Linked DNA regions of Homo sapiens: all the other regions are linked to region 1. Evidence: promoter capture Hi-C in human tissues and cell types (Jung and others, 2019). All regions are on one chromosome and are shown on one strand. The core of a region is centred on a gene start or on the middle of the fragment in contact, and the rest is flanking DNA. Distances in the headings are between cores, read along the strand shown.

Region 1 (2,700 bases), core at 4-2,503:
TGGTACATGGCCCGAGTTATCCAGCGGCGCTGGAAGGAGTGCAGGGAGGCCACCATGGAGCCGCCGGTCCACACAGCCATGCCACGCCCATGCTTGGCCACCAGGTGGGGCCGCAGGGCCGCGTAGCCGTGCCGCCGGCACTGCGCCTCCAGCTCCTTGTCCAGGCGCTCGGCGAAGCCAGGAAACAGTGTGGAGCCGCCGGCTAGCACCACGGTGTCTGCCAGGCGTGTCCGCAGCGTTTTGGGCATCTTCTGCAGCGCCCGGAAGGCCAGCGCGGGCAGCCCCTGCTCAGCCTGGCCCAGCAGGCCCGGCTGGAAGATGGGTTCGGGGCAGCGGAAGCGCTCACTGCTGAGGCAGACGCAGCACCCGTTACCCACGCTGAAACTGGCCGGATGGTGGCGGGCGGGGTCGCGGAGGTCGCCCTCGAAGTCCAGGGACACGTAGCAGCTGCGCTTCTTGAGATGTGTGATGGCCTTGCGGGGCAGGGCCTGCTGCAAGAGGTCAGGGTTCGCCGCCACCAGCAGATCCCGCAGGTAGCGCGACAGGGTGCTGCCTGCCACGTTCAGTCGGAAGGTGGCCTGGTGCCACGAGTGACCCGCGTAGATGGGCGTGGCGTGGCACACGCCCGCGCCCGCCTCCACGGCCAGCCCGCTGAACGCGCCGGTGGAGCAGAGCGCCAGCAACGCGGTGCTAGCCATGTGGCACGCGGGCACTGCCAGGGTCTCGAACAGCAGCTCCGCCACCCTTTCGCGGCCCGCGGGCGGCGCCAACGGCGAGTCGCTCACCAGCACGGGCCACTGCTCTGGGCACACCCGCAGGCCGCCCACCAGCAGGCGCTCCCACAGCCCTTCCAGCGCCTCCCAGTCCGCCACCACGCCGTGCTTGATGGGGTGCGCCCGCGCCACGCCGCCCGCCAGCTCGCAGCCCGGCGCTCCGGGCAGCACCGGCCGGTCCCAGCTGGGCACCAAGCTAGAGCTCTTCAGCACTATGCGCGGCTGGTTCTCGCCCGCGAAGCCCGCCTTGGTGAAGCCCGAGCCCTGGTCCACCACCACCGCGATGCGGCCCAGGGAGGACGGCCGGTGCACGCGGCGGCTCCCCGACACCGACGCCACCTTCGGGCTCGGCCCAGCCGCGGGGCTGAAGGCTCCGCTCCTCCGCGCCACTCGGCTTCGTCGGCCCGATACCTCCCGGCCTCTGTCCTAGGGAGTAGTCCCCTTCAGCCTTTGGCTCTGCCTCCGGAGCCTAAGTTCTTCCTCTTCTGGACCAAATCACCACCCTTTTCAGCTCTTGGCTCCGCCCTCTGGTCTGAAAGCCCCGCCTCTTCTGTCCGGGCCATCCGCCTCCTTTTCAGCTCGTGGCTAGTTCCTAGGCCTGAGGCCCGGCCCCTAGTTCAGGCTTCAGTCTCCGCTCTGGCTGGGTTCCAGCCGCATCTCACCCTCTTGGTCTCCCTCTGGCGCCGGGCTTCAGGCTCCACGCTCTCAGGACCCGCCTCTGCTTTGCTGTTCCGCCCCGTCAGCCCTTGCTGAGATGGCTGACGAGATGGCTAGGACTGATCCTTTTAGATCCTAAGAAGCCCCCGGGAGGAGCAGAACTTTGAGGGCGAAGGGGCCTTGTGGTAAGGCCATTTGGACATATATCCCCCTTGAGGACCCAGGCAGCCTCCTGGCACCTCTCACCTGGGCTTGACGGAAGTTCCTGGTTGTGGAGAGGGGAGGGGCTGGTCAGAAGGCAGAAAAGAACTTGGATTGGGCTCATTGTGACCTCACTCCCCAGCAGCTGCACTTCGCAGCTCCCTACCTTATGACAACTCCCTGGACCCATCCTCTCTTCTGGACAGAGCCAAGGGCAGTGATTTTGGCATCCAGGGGTCTGGCTTCAGCAGCCCAGCACAGTCTGATTCCTTTCCCAAACCACTTAGAATTATCTGATGTACTCTGTCCAGATGTGTGGCCCCCTACCCCTCCCAGTGCTGAAGAAAAAGCTTTTTCATCACAGATCTGCAGCTTCCCTGAAGAGCCCCCGAGAGGCTCTGGCCCTACCTTTATGGGCTTCCACGGATGGATTCACGTGGGCCTCAGTTTGAGACTCAGTTCTTTTTTTTATTATTATTATTTTTGAGACGGAGTCTCGGTCACCCAGGCTGGGCGTGCAGCGTTGCAATCTCAGCTCAGTGCAACCTCTGCCTTCCGAGTTCAAGTGATTCTCCTGCCTCAGCCTCCTGAGTAGCTGGGACTACAGGCATGCACCACCATACGCGGCTAATTTTTGTATTTTTAGTGGAGACAGGGTTTCGCCACGTTGGCCAGGCTGGTCTCGAACTCCTGACCTCAGGTGATCCACCTGCCTTGGACTCCCAAAGTGCTAGGATTACAGGTGTGAGCCACCGCACCCAGCAAGACTCAGTTCTGAAGCTGACTCACTGTGCAGTCCTAAGCAAGTCTTGATCTTTCTCTGGGTTCGGTTTTCTCCTCCAAAAGGTAGTAATAATCCCCCCACACAGGAAAGAGGTCACTTCTTGTCTCTGCAAAGCCTCATCCTCCTGAGGACCAGTTTGGTTGCAGGTAGAAGACTCAGGTGAATGTAACCCAAAATAAGGACTTTATTGAAAGGATCTTACATGTTATGGATATCAAGAGCAAGGGTGAAATCAGGTTTCAGGAACAGAATCTGACTGCGGGGCTGTGGGGAACCCAGGATGTG
Region 2 (2,824 bases), core at 177-2,676, 95 kb after region 1:
TAAAATTCTTTCTCTATATGACAGGAAGAATGATCTTTATACAATATAAATCAGATCACATTACTGCCCCAACTATTCAATGGTTACCCATCACTCAGAATGAAATCCAAATTCATTGGATTACAAAGCTTTATGCTGGCTTTAAAAGCTCTACATGAACTTCTGTCTCCTGTCTCTCTACCCTCTTCTCTTCGTCCACTACATTATATCTACATCGGCCATTTTTCTATTCTTTGAACATACTGAGTTCATTCCCATCATTGAGCCTTTGCACTGGAATATTCTTATCACTGACATCCACCGACTATTTCATTATTGTTATTCAGCACACAGCTCAATTTACTTCTTCAGAGAGTCCTAAATTAACACTTAATTTCATATACATATTTTTTTGTTAATGGGCTCAGTACTTTCTTTTATTCAAATTTAGAAACATTTTTATTTGCAAGACTATTCAAATAATTCTGTTAATATCATTTAGCTAAATTCACCAATTAATTCATCCATTTATAAAAATCACTTTCTTTTTCTCTATCTACCTATATTTTTATCTAAACCACTTGAGAGCAAGCTGGAAACATTACACTCCCTTATGCTTAAATATTTCAGTGTGTAAATGCTAAGAGTTAGGATGTTTACTTATAAGCCCAGTATAATTACCAAAATTATTAACATTAATACCCTACCACCATCTTTACAGATATTATTCTAAAATTTATGAGGGACTTCCTCATATAAACAAGGTTGGCAGATCACCTGAAGTCAGGAGTTCAAGACCAGCCTGGCCAACATGGCAAAACCCCGTCTCTAGTAACAATGCAAAAATTAGCCAGGCCCGTGGTGGCAGGCGCCTGTAGTCCCAGCTACTCTGGAGGCTGAGGCAGCAGAATCGTTTGAACCTGGGAGGCGGAGGTTATGGTGAGCCGGGATTGTGCCACTGCACTCCAGCCTGGGCGACAGAGCGAGACTCCATCTCAAAAACCAAACAAACCAAACAAACAAACAAAACACAAGAAAAGAAATCACCACTCCCAAGTGCTAATGGAAAATAACTGTCAACCTTTACACTCTAACCACATTTAACTATCATTCAAGTAAAGGTGAAATAAAGATATCTTCAGATCAGCAAAAAGAGTGTACTACTTACAGATTCTCCAAGAATTATTAACAGATACACTTGGCAGGAATGAATTATTAACCTAGAAGGAAAATTGTGATAAATATGCAAAGTGACCAGATAATTCAATAAATATATTGGTAAATCGAAATTAATAGCTTTAAAAATAATGGTAACTATTATTTTGGCTGGGAGTGTAACAAACAAAATGGAAACAAAATCCTAGACAGCGGTAATATATTGAAAAAGTTACTGAATTTGAAGTGTTCTAAGACTTCTGTACTTAAAGAAAAAAATGGATATATGAATTGACATTAGATTTTATGTCAAGTACACATTAAAATTTTAAAAGTAATCATCAAAATAAGGAAAACGAAACATCTATCTTTAAACTCACCCACTATTTTCACTTATTCAATTAAGAGTATCTATTGATTTGTGCGTACAAAATGTGAGAAAATAGAATAAAGTAGTACATTAAAATGAAACAAACCAAAAAAGTTGAAGAGCCTTAAACATTTTTACTGAAGTGTTTGAAACTGACTCCAAAAAACAACATAATTACCAAGACAAATCACCAATTCTCTGTCCCCCCTCCAGACCCACTTAAAAAGATTTGTTGTTAGAGATGGTTCCCTTGGATGGAAAGGCAGGGAAACACTTCAATTCATTCTCCAAGATAAAGATGGAAGTTAACATTTCTAGAAGGTCAGTCACACACACACCAAGTCTGTTGTCCTCCCTTACTTTAGACATGAAGAACAGAGCCAGGACTGGGGAAAGGTAAGTGAGAAGCCTGGGGCCCCGACAAAGCACTTGTGGTTATTTGCCATGCTTCTCTACTTGGGGAGACAGAAGCACAGTTTGCTTGTGGAAACCTCAGTTCACATTCACAGTGCAAGAAAACTTATTTCCAGTTTCATTGTGGCATTAGCCCTAGGAATGAGAGAGGACAACTTAATAAAATTAAAACAGATGAAAAGAAAATGAGTCTCACATTAGACTGCAAACTCCTTTTACTATTTAACTTTGTTTCTCAGTATGTACAATGACAGAATGAAAGAATCAGTAAGGCCACAGAAGGAAACCCCCATTCTTCCTAAGTACCAGAAAGAAGGGTTAACAGCACATGTACTCACCTCAAGACGACAATATCTATAGCAATACTGATCAACATTCCCAACATGTACTAGCTCCAAACTTCAAATCAAAGTACACTTAATTTGGAGTCAGAGAAGGCTCTGTTTCAAATCTCAACTCTTCCCCTTTACTGACTTCCCTACCTTTCAATTTCTCCACTGCTTAAAACGAAGGAGCAGATTAAAAAGCTCTGAAAAAAACTCTTCAAATACTACAACTCCTAACCTATTCTAAATATAATCACATTGCTCTACCTAGAGGCTTGCCTTCATAGGAGCTGTCACGTAAAATGTTGGCTGCCAGGGGCTTTTCAAATTCTAGTATCTTTTTTTGTTTGTTTGTTTTTGAGATGGAGTCTCGCTCTTGTCACCCAGGCTGGAGTGCAGTGGCATGATCTCGGCTCCCTGCAAACTCTGCCTCCTGGGTTCAAGTGATTCTCCTGCCTCAGCCTCCCCAGTAGCTGGGATTACAGGCATGTGCCACCACACCTGGCTAGTTTCTTTGTATTTTTAGTAAAGATGGGGCTTCACCATTTTGGATAGGCTAGTCTCCAACTCCTGACTTCAG
Region 3 (2,843 bases), core at 247-2,746, 120 kb before region 1:
AGGGGGACCCACAGAATTTAGCCTCCAGGGGAACTGTAAGCACACATTCCTTGGGGAACATCGCCAAGGTATATGATAAGGAAAAAAAGGCACATAAGTTATAGTATGTGCTCATTTTTGCAAACGTAAGCAAGCGTTTTATATATGTGTAAAATAAAACTAGAAGAATGCAGACTAGACCGCTAACAGTTACCTTTGGGGAAGAGAATTAGGAGTATTTTGCAAACTGCAAACCACAAGTTACACCCTGTTGGTGGTTATTTTAAGAATTAAAAATAGGCTGGGTGTGGTGGCTTGCATCTGTAATCCCAGCACTTTGAGAGGCCAAGGTGGGTGGGTAACCTGAGGCCAGGAGTTTGAGACCATCTTGGCCAACATGGTGAAACCCCGTCTCTACTGAAAATACAGAAATTAGCCAGGCATGTGGTGGGCGCCTGTAATCCCAGCTACTCGGGAGGCTGAGGCACGAGAATGGCTTGAACCTGGGAGGCGGAGGTTGTAGTGAGATCATACCATTGCACTCCAGCCTGGGTGACAGAGTGAGACCCTGTCTCAAAATAAAAATAAAAAATAAAAAAACTAAAATTGAAAAGGACAAAATAGAAAACACTGTTTTGTAAAACTTTTGTTGCAATACATCCTATGTGTGCTTCCTGGGTTGCAATATGAAATGTATTTTTTACCATAGGTCGTAGGAAAGAAAAAAAAGGAAAAACATTGGATTGTCCATCTGAAGTGAGAGGGAGTTTATTTTTTTATATATGCTTTTGTCCCGTCAAGGATTTTCCCTCAAGTTTTCTCAATCTTTAGATCCTTTTCAATTAAAAAGCAATTAAAAAATTTAACTAATAAAAAAATCTAAAGATTAATAGAAAAGAAAATGTCAGTGTGTTTCAACTGGGGAACCAAGGAGATGGCGTTTTGTTCAGGTTTGAGTGGGAACTTACAGTGAGAGCAGTGTCCCCACCACAGGGGGCAGAGTCAAGAGTCCCTCACACAGGCTGGGTGCAGTGCCTCACGCCTGTCATCCCAGCACTTTGGGAGGCCGAGGCAGGAGGATCACCTGAGGTCAGGAGTTCGAAACCAGCCTGGCCAACATGGCAAAACCCTGTTTCTACTAAAAATACAAAAAACTAGCTGGACATGGTGGTGGGAGCCTGTAATCCCAGCTACTCAGGAGGCTGAGGCAGGAGAATCACTTGAACCCGGGAGGCAGAGGTTGCAGTGAGCCAAGATCTGCCACCGCACTCCAGCCTGGGCAACAAGAGCGAGACTTTGTCTCAAAGAAAAAAAAAAAAAGAATAAAAAGTCCCTTCCACACAACCTCCAGGGGCTCTTCTCTGCTTTAGCGGTGGTGGGAATCCCTTGTTCATGAATTAAGGCAGGTGGATCAGGGGCCAGGAAGGAGAGAGGAAGGAGGAGCAAGGGGAGAGGCAGGAGGGCTGGAGGGAGACAGACAGCGACAGAGAGGAGGGGGAGGGGGCTGGAGGGAGAGGGGAGAGGACAGGGGAGGGAGGCTGGAGGGGGCTAGAAGGAGATGGGGAGAGGGAGGGGAAGGGAGGCTAGAGGGAGATGGGAAGGAGGAGGGAGAAGGGGGCTGCAGGGAGATGGGGAAGAAGAGGGAGATGGGGAGGGTGAGGGAGATGGGGGGGAGAGAGATGGAGAGAGGGAGGGAGATGGGGGAGGGGGAAGGAGATGGGGAGAGGGAGGGAGGTGAGGAGGCGGAGGGAGGGGGGAGGGAGAGGAGTAGGGAGAGGGAGAGGGGAAAGGAAATGGGGAAGAGGAGGGAGAAGGGTGCTGGAGGGAGATGGGGAGGAGGAAGGAGATGGGGAGGAGGAGGGAGATGGGGAGGAGGAGGGAGACGGGGGCTGAGAGAGATGAGGGGAGGGACTGAGTGAGATGGGGAGGGAGATGGAGAAGTGGAGGGAAAAGGGGCTGAGGGAGACAGGGAGAAGAGCCAGATGGGGATGGGAAGAGAGAGAAAGGCATGAGGAGAGGGGGAGGGGGAGGGGAGGGGCTGGGCTGGAGTTCTCAGGGGCAGGGTACCTACCCGAGTGGATGTGAGCATGCAGTTTGAGATAATGCTCCCGCCGGAAGAACTTCTTGCACACTTGGCACTTGAACCTGCCCCCGCTGCCGTGGGTGGGCAGATGACGCCGCAGGTAGCGTTCACAAGGAAACACCTGGGAGAGAAGAGGGGCCTTCAGGTCTGACTCACCGGGCCCCCCTCCCCTGGCCATCTTCTGAACTCAAAGGTTCCTCGTTTCCAGCCCCTATAGAGACACCTTCCTTTCTGGCTATCAGGGGCCAGGACCCAGAATGTCAGACTCAGCCCTTAGAACTTCATGGCTCCCCACAAGCCCGGACAAAACATGTCTGCCCTGAGCTTTTGCCCGGATGTTCTTCCCACCCAGAGGGCCTTTCTCTCTTTACTGACAAACTCTTACACATCCTTCAAGACCCAACTCGGGCGTCACTGCTCCTGTCAAGCCTTCCCTAGCTCCCTGGTGCTATGCCTGGCAAAGCCAATTCTGCCTTTGAATGTCCACCCACACTTTTAAGTCAGCATTTAACCCACTGAATGACAGCCCTTTGCTTACACAGGAGCTCCAAGTAGGCAGAGAGGGGCTTTCACTCCCCAGCACAGAGCCTGGGTCAAATGACTGACAAGTAAAAGAATTAATGGAAAATGAGCAAATTACTAAAGAAATCTATGGAAAGGTAATTTTTTACTTTTATTTATTTTATTTTATTTTATTTGAGATGCAGTTTCGCTCATATTGTCCAGGCTGGAGTGCAATGGTGCAATCTTGGCTCACTGCAACCTCTGCCTCCCAGGTTCA
Region 4 (2,700 bases), core at 32-2,531, 67 kb after region 1:
ACACCTGTAATCCCAGCTACTCAGGAGGCTGAGGCAGGAGAACCGCTTGAACACGAGAGGCAGAGGCTGCAATAAGCCAAGACCGCACCACTGCACTCCAGTCTGGGCGACAGAGCGAGACTCTGTCTAAAAACAAACAAACAAAAAACAACAACAACAATAAAAAACCCACAAAAAAAACAAAAATCAGACTCTCAGGCTGGGCGTGGGTGGCTCCTGCCTGTAATCCCAAGACTTTGGGAGACTGAGGTGGGCGGATTAGACTAACAGAAGGGAGCGGGGAGGCTTATCATTTTAGGCCATGAAGTTCTGACATGGTTTGTTATGCAGGAATAGACAACTAATCTACACCACATACAAATTATAATGTTCCTTTTTTTTTTTGGTTCTATTATTGTGTTTTATAATATCACAATATGTCCTGGAATTCTTAATTCCACAATTTTAAAAAACAATATGATAATACACTTTGAGGAGGTACCATAGTTCATTTAAACAATCCCTTGTCAATGAACAATTGGATTATTTCCAATAATTTGGTCCTGGATTTTGAGGATCCAGATCCCAATCTACTTGACTGTCCTGGATTTGCCAGGCCTTAGGGAAGTTCAGAGATGAAGGTAGGGAGGGACCTCACTTATGGGAAAGACAGACATACAGTACTGGGAAAATAAAGAAATAGAAACATTACCATGTACGACGGCCAGGCAAGTCTTAACACAATGTTAAGGTGTTTGCTGGAAAGGCTACATGGGCTCTCCAGGTAGCACATGGGATATAGTTTGAATAGTGCCCCCAAGAGGTGGTATCACAGCTGAAGGAAAAATCAGGGAAAAGATTTCCTGGACCATAGCCTCTCTTCAATCACTGCCAAGCATAGGTAAATGTTCTGAATGTGTAATTGTCATATGGTAAGAATTTCCAGGCCGGGTGCAGTGGCTCATACCTGTAATCCCAGCACGTTGGGAGGCCAATGCAGGCAGATCACCTGAGGTCAGGAGTTCAAGACGAGCCTGGCCAACATGGTGAAACCCCATCTCTACTAAACAAAAATTAGCTGGGCATGGTGGCAGGCGTCTGTAATCCCAGCTGCTCAGGAGGCTGAGGCAGAAGAACTGCTTGAACCCAGGAGGTGGAGGTTGCAGTTAGTTGAGATGGTGCCACTGCACTCCAGCCTGGAAAACAGCAAGACTCCATCACAAAAAAAAAAAAAAAAAAAAAAAAAAAAACTTTCCAAAAGTGATAATTCTAACTTGCTAAAGATGGAGGAAGAAACATCAAAATTACTGTTACATTTATAGCCTTATAAAGTTGGCTAAACTGATTATGGACATAGTACATGCTTAAGGATGAGCATTTACCATCTTTGTAACTCTGCCACAAATCTGACAACACATCCAACTTCCTAATAACACGCAGGCTTCATATGCCGAGATGGCCAGAAACAACTGTTTATAATGACAAACAATTTATCATTCAACAAAAATGGAGACATAAGGACTCAAAGAAATTACCAGAGGCTGGGCACAGTGGCTCACGCCTGTAATCCCAGCACTTTGGGAGGTTGAGGTGGGTGGATCACCTGAGGTCAGGAGTTCAAGACCAGCCTGGCCAACATGGTGAAACCCCGTTTCTACTAAAAATACAAAAAATTAGCCAGGCATGGTGGTGGGCACCTGTAAACCCAGCTACTCAGGAGGCTATGGCTGGCAGAAGAATCACTTGAACCTGGGAGGTGGAGGTTGCGGTGAGCCAAGATCATGCCATTCATTGCACTACAGCCTGGGCAACAGAGTAAGGCTCCGTCTCAAAAAAAAAAAAAAGGGAAATTACCAGAAAGTATTTTACAAGGACCTTTGAAGATAGAAGATGGAGCACAATTAAAACAAAATCAATACTTTAACATGTACCAACACTGATAGAAAAAATAAATTTTTTACATTCCATGTTTATACATATACTGGAAAATTAATTTATCATTATTATAGCTCAGGAATCAGGAAACTTTTCCTGCCAAAGGCAAGACAGTAAATATTTTTTTGCTCTATTGTAGCACACTATAGACAATATACAAATAAATGGGCTTGGCTGTGTTGTAATCAATCTTTATTCACAAAAATGGACAGTGGGCCACAGGTTTTTTTTTTCTCTTGAGACAGAGTCTCACTGTCGCCCAGGCTGTATTGCAGTGGCGCCATCTCTGTTCACTGCAACCTCCGCCTCCTGGGTTCAAGCAATTCTCCTGCCTCAGCTTCCCAAGTAGCTGGGACTACAGGCACATGCCACTGAGCCCAGCTAATTTTTTTGTATTTTAGTAGAGATGGAGTTTCACCCTGCTGCCCAGGCTGGTCTCGAACTCCTGAGCTCAGGCAATCCACCTGCCTCGGCCTCCCAAAGTGCTGGGATTACAGGCGTAAGCCACCATGCCTGGCCGACAGTGGGCCACAGTTTACTGACTTCTGCTATAACTGATTAAAAAGCTGGAAAACCAGCCTGGGCAATGAAGTGAGACTGCTGCGGGAAGTCAGGGACCCCAAACGGAGGGACCGGCTGAAGCCATGGCAGAAGAAGGTGGATTGTGAAGATTTCATGGACATTTATTAGTTCCCCAAATTAATACTTTTATTTCTTATGCCTGTCTTTACTGCAATCTCTAAACATAAATTGTAAAGATTTTATGGACACTTATCACTTCCCCAA

The links. The method cuts DNA at HindIII sites, captures the fragments that hold promoters and counts their contacts. A contact is called where the count stands out against the background at its distance.
Region 2: a contact is called between a fragment that was not itself captured here and the fragment with the promoter of ACTL10 in region 1, in 3 of the 25 tissues and cell types used here (dorsolateral prefrontal cortex, hippocampus and lymphoblastoid cells).
Region 3: a contact is called between a fragment that was not itself captured here and the fragment with the promoter of ACTL10 in region 1, in 2 of the 25 tissues and cell types used here (H1 embryonic stem cells and lymphoblastoid cells).
Region 4: a fragment that was not itself captured here is called in contact with the fragment with the promoter of ACTL10 in region 1 in 2 of the 25 tissues and cell types used here (mesendoderm cells and neural progenitor cells).

Annotation. Positions count from the first base shown.
Region 1 is chr20:33,665,496-33,668,195 of GRCh38, reverse strand. It overlaps ACTL10 (actin like 10), which reads right to left and starts at 1,253. Exons shown (of 1, transcript NM_001024675.2): 1 at 1-1,253. The coding sequence starts at 698. The region is part of intron 5 of NECAB3 (N-terminal EF-hand calcium binding protein 3); the gene reads left to right. RefSeq lists enhancers at 451-530, 1,341-1,560 and a silencer at 881-1,210. The HindIII fragment of the contact is 10,203 bases long and covers 1-2,700 here.
Region 2 is chr20:33,570,061-33,572,884 of GRCh38, reverse strand. All of the region lies in intron 1 of CBFA2T2 (CBFA2/RUNX1 partner transcriptional co-repressor 2), which reads right to left. Among named protein-coding and RNA genes, the nearest start is that of CBFA2T2, 81 kb to the right of the region's middle. The HindIII fragment of the contact is 4,062 bases long and covers 1-2,824 here.
Region 3 is chr20:33,783,072-33,785,914 of GRCh38, reverse strand. It overlaps ZNF341 (zinc finger protein 341), which reads right to left. Exons shown (of 15, transcript NM_001282933.2): 12 at 2,051-2,183. Among named protein-coding and RNA genes, the nearest start is that of ZNF341-AS1, 27 kb to the left of the region's middle. RefSeq lists a silencer at 189-238. The HindIII fragment of the contact is 4,090 bases long and covers 1-2,843 here.
Region 4 is chr20:33,598,712-33,601,411 of GRCh38, reverse strand. All of the region lies in intron 1 of CBFA2T2 (CBFA2/RUNX1 partner transcriptional co-repressor 2), which reads right to left. Among named protein-coding and RNA genes, the nearest start is that of C20orf144, 62 kb to the left of the region's middle. The HindIII fragment of the contact is 9,711 bases long and covers 1-2,700 here.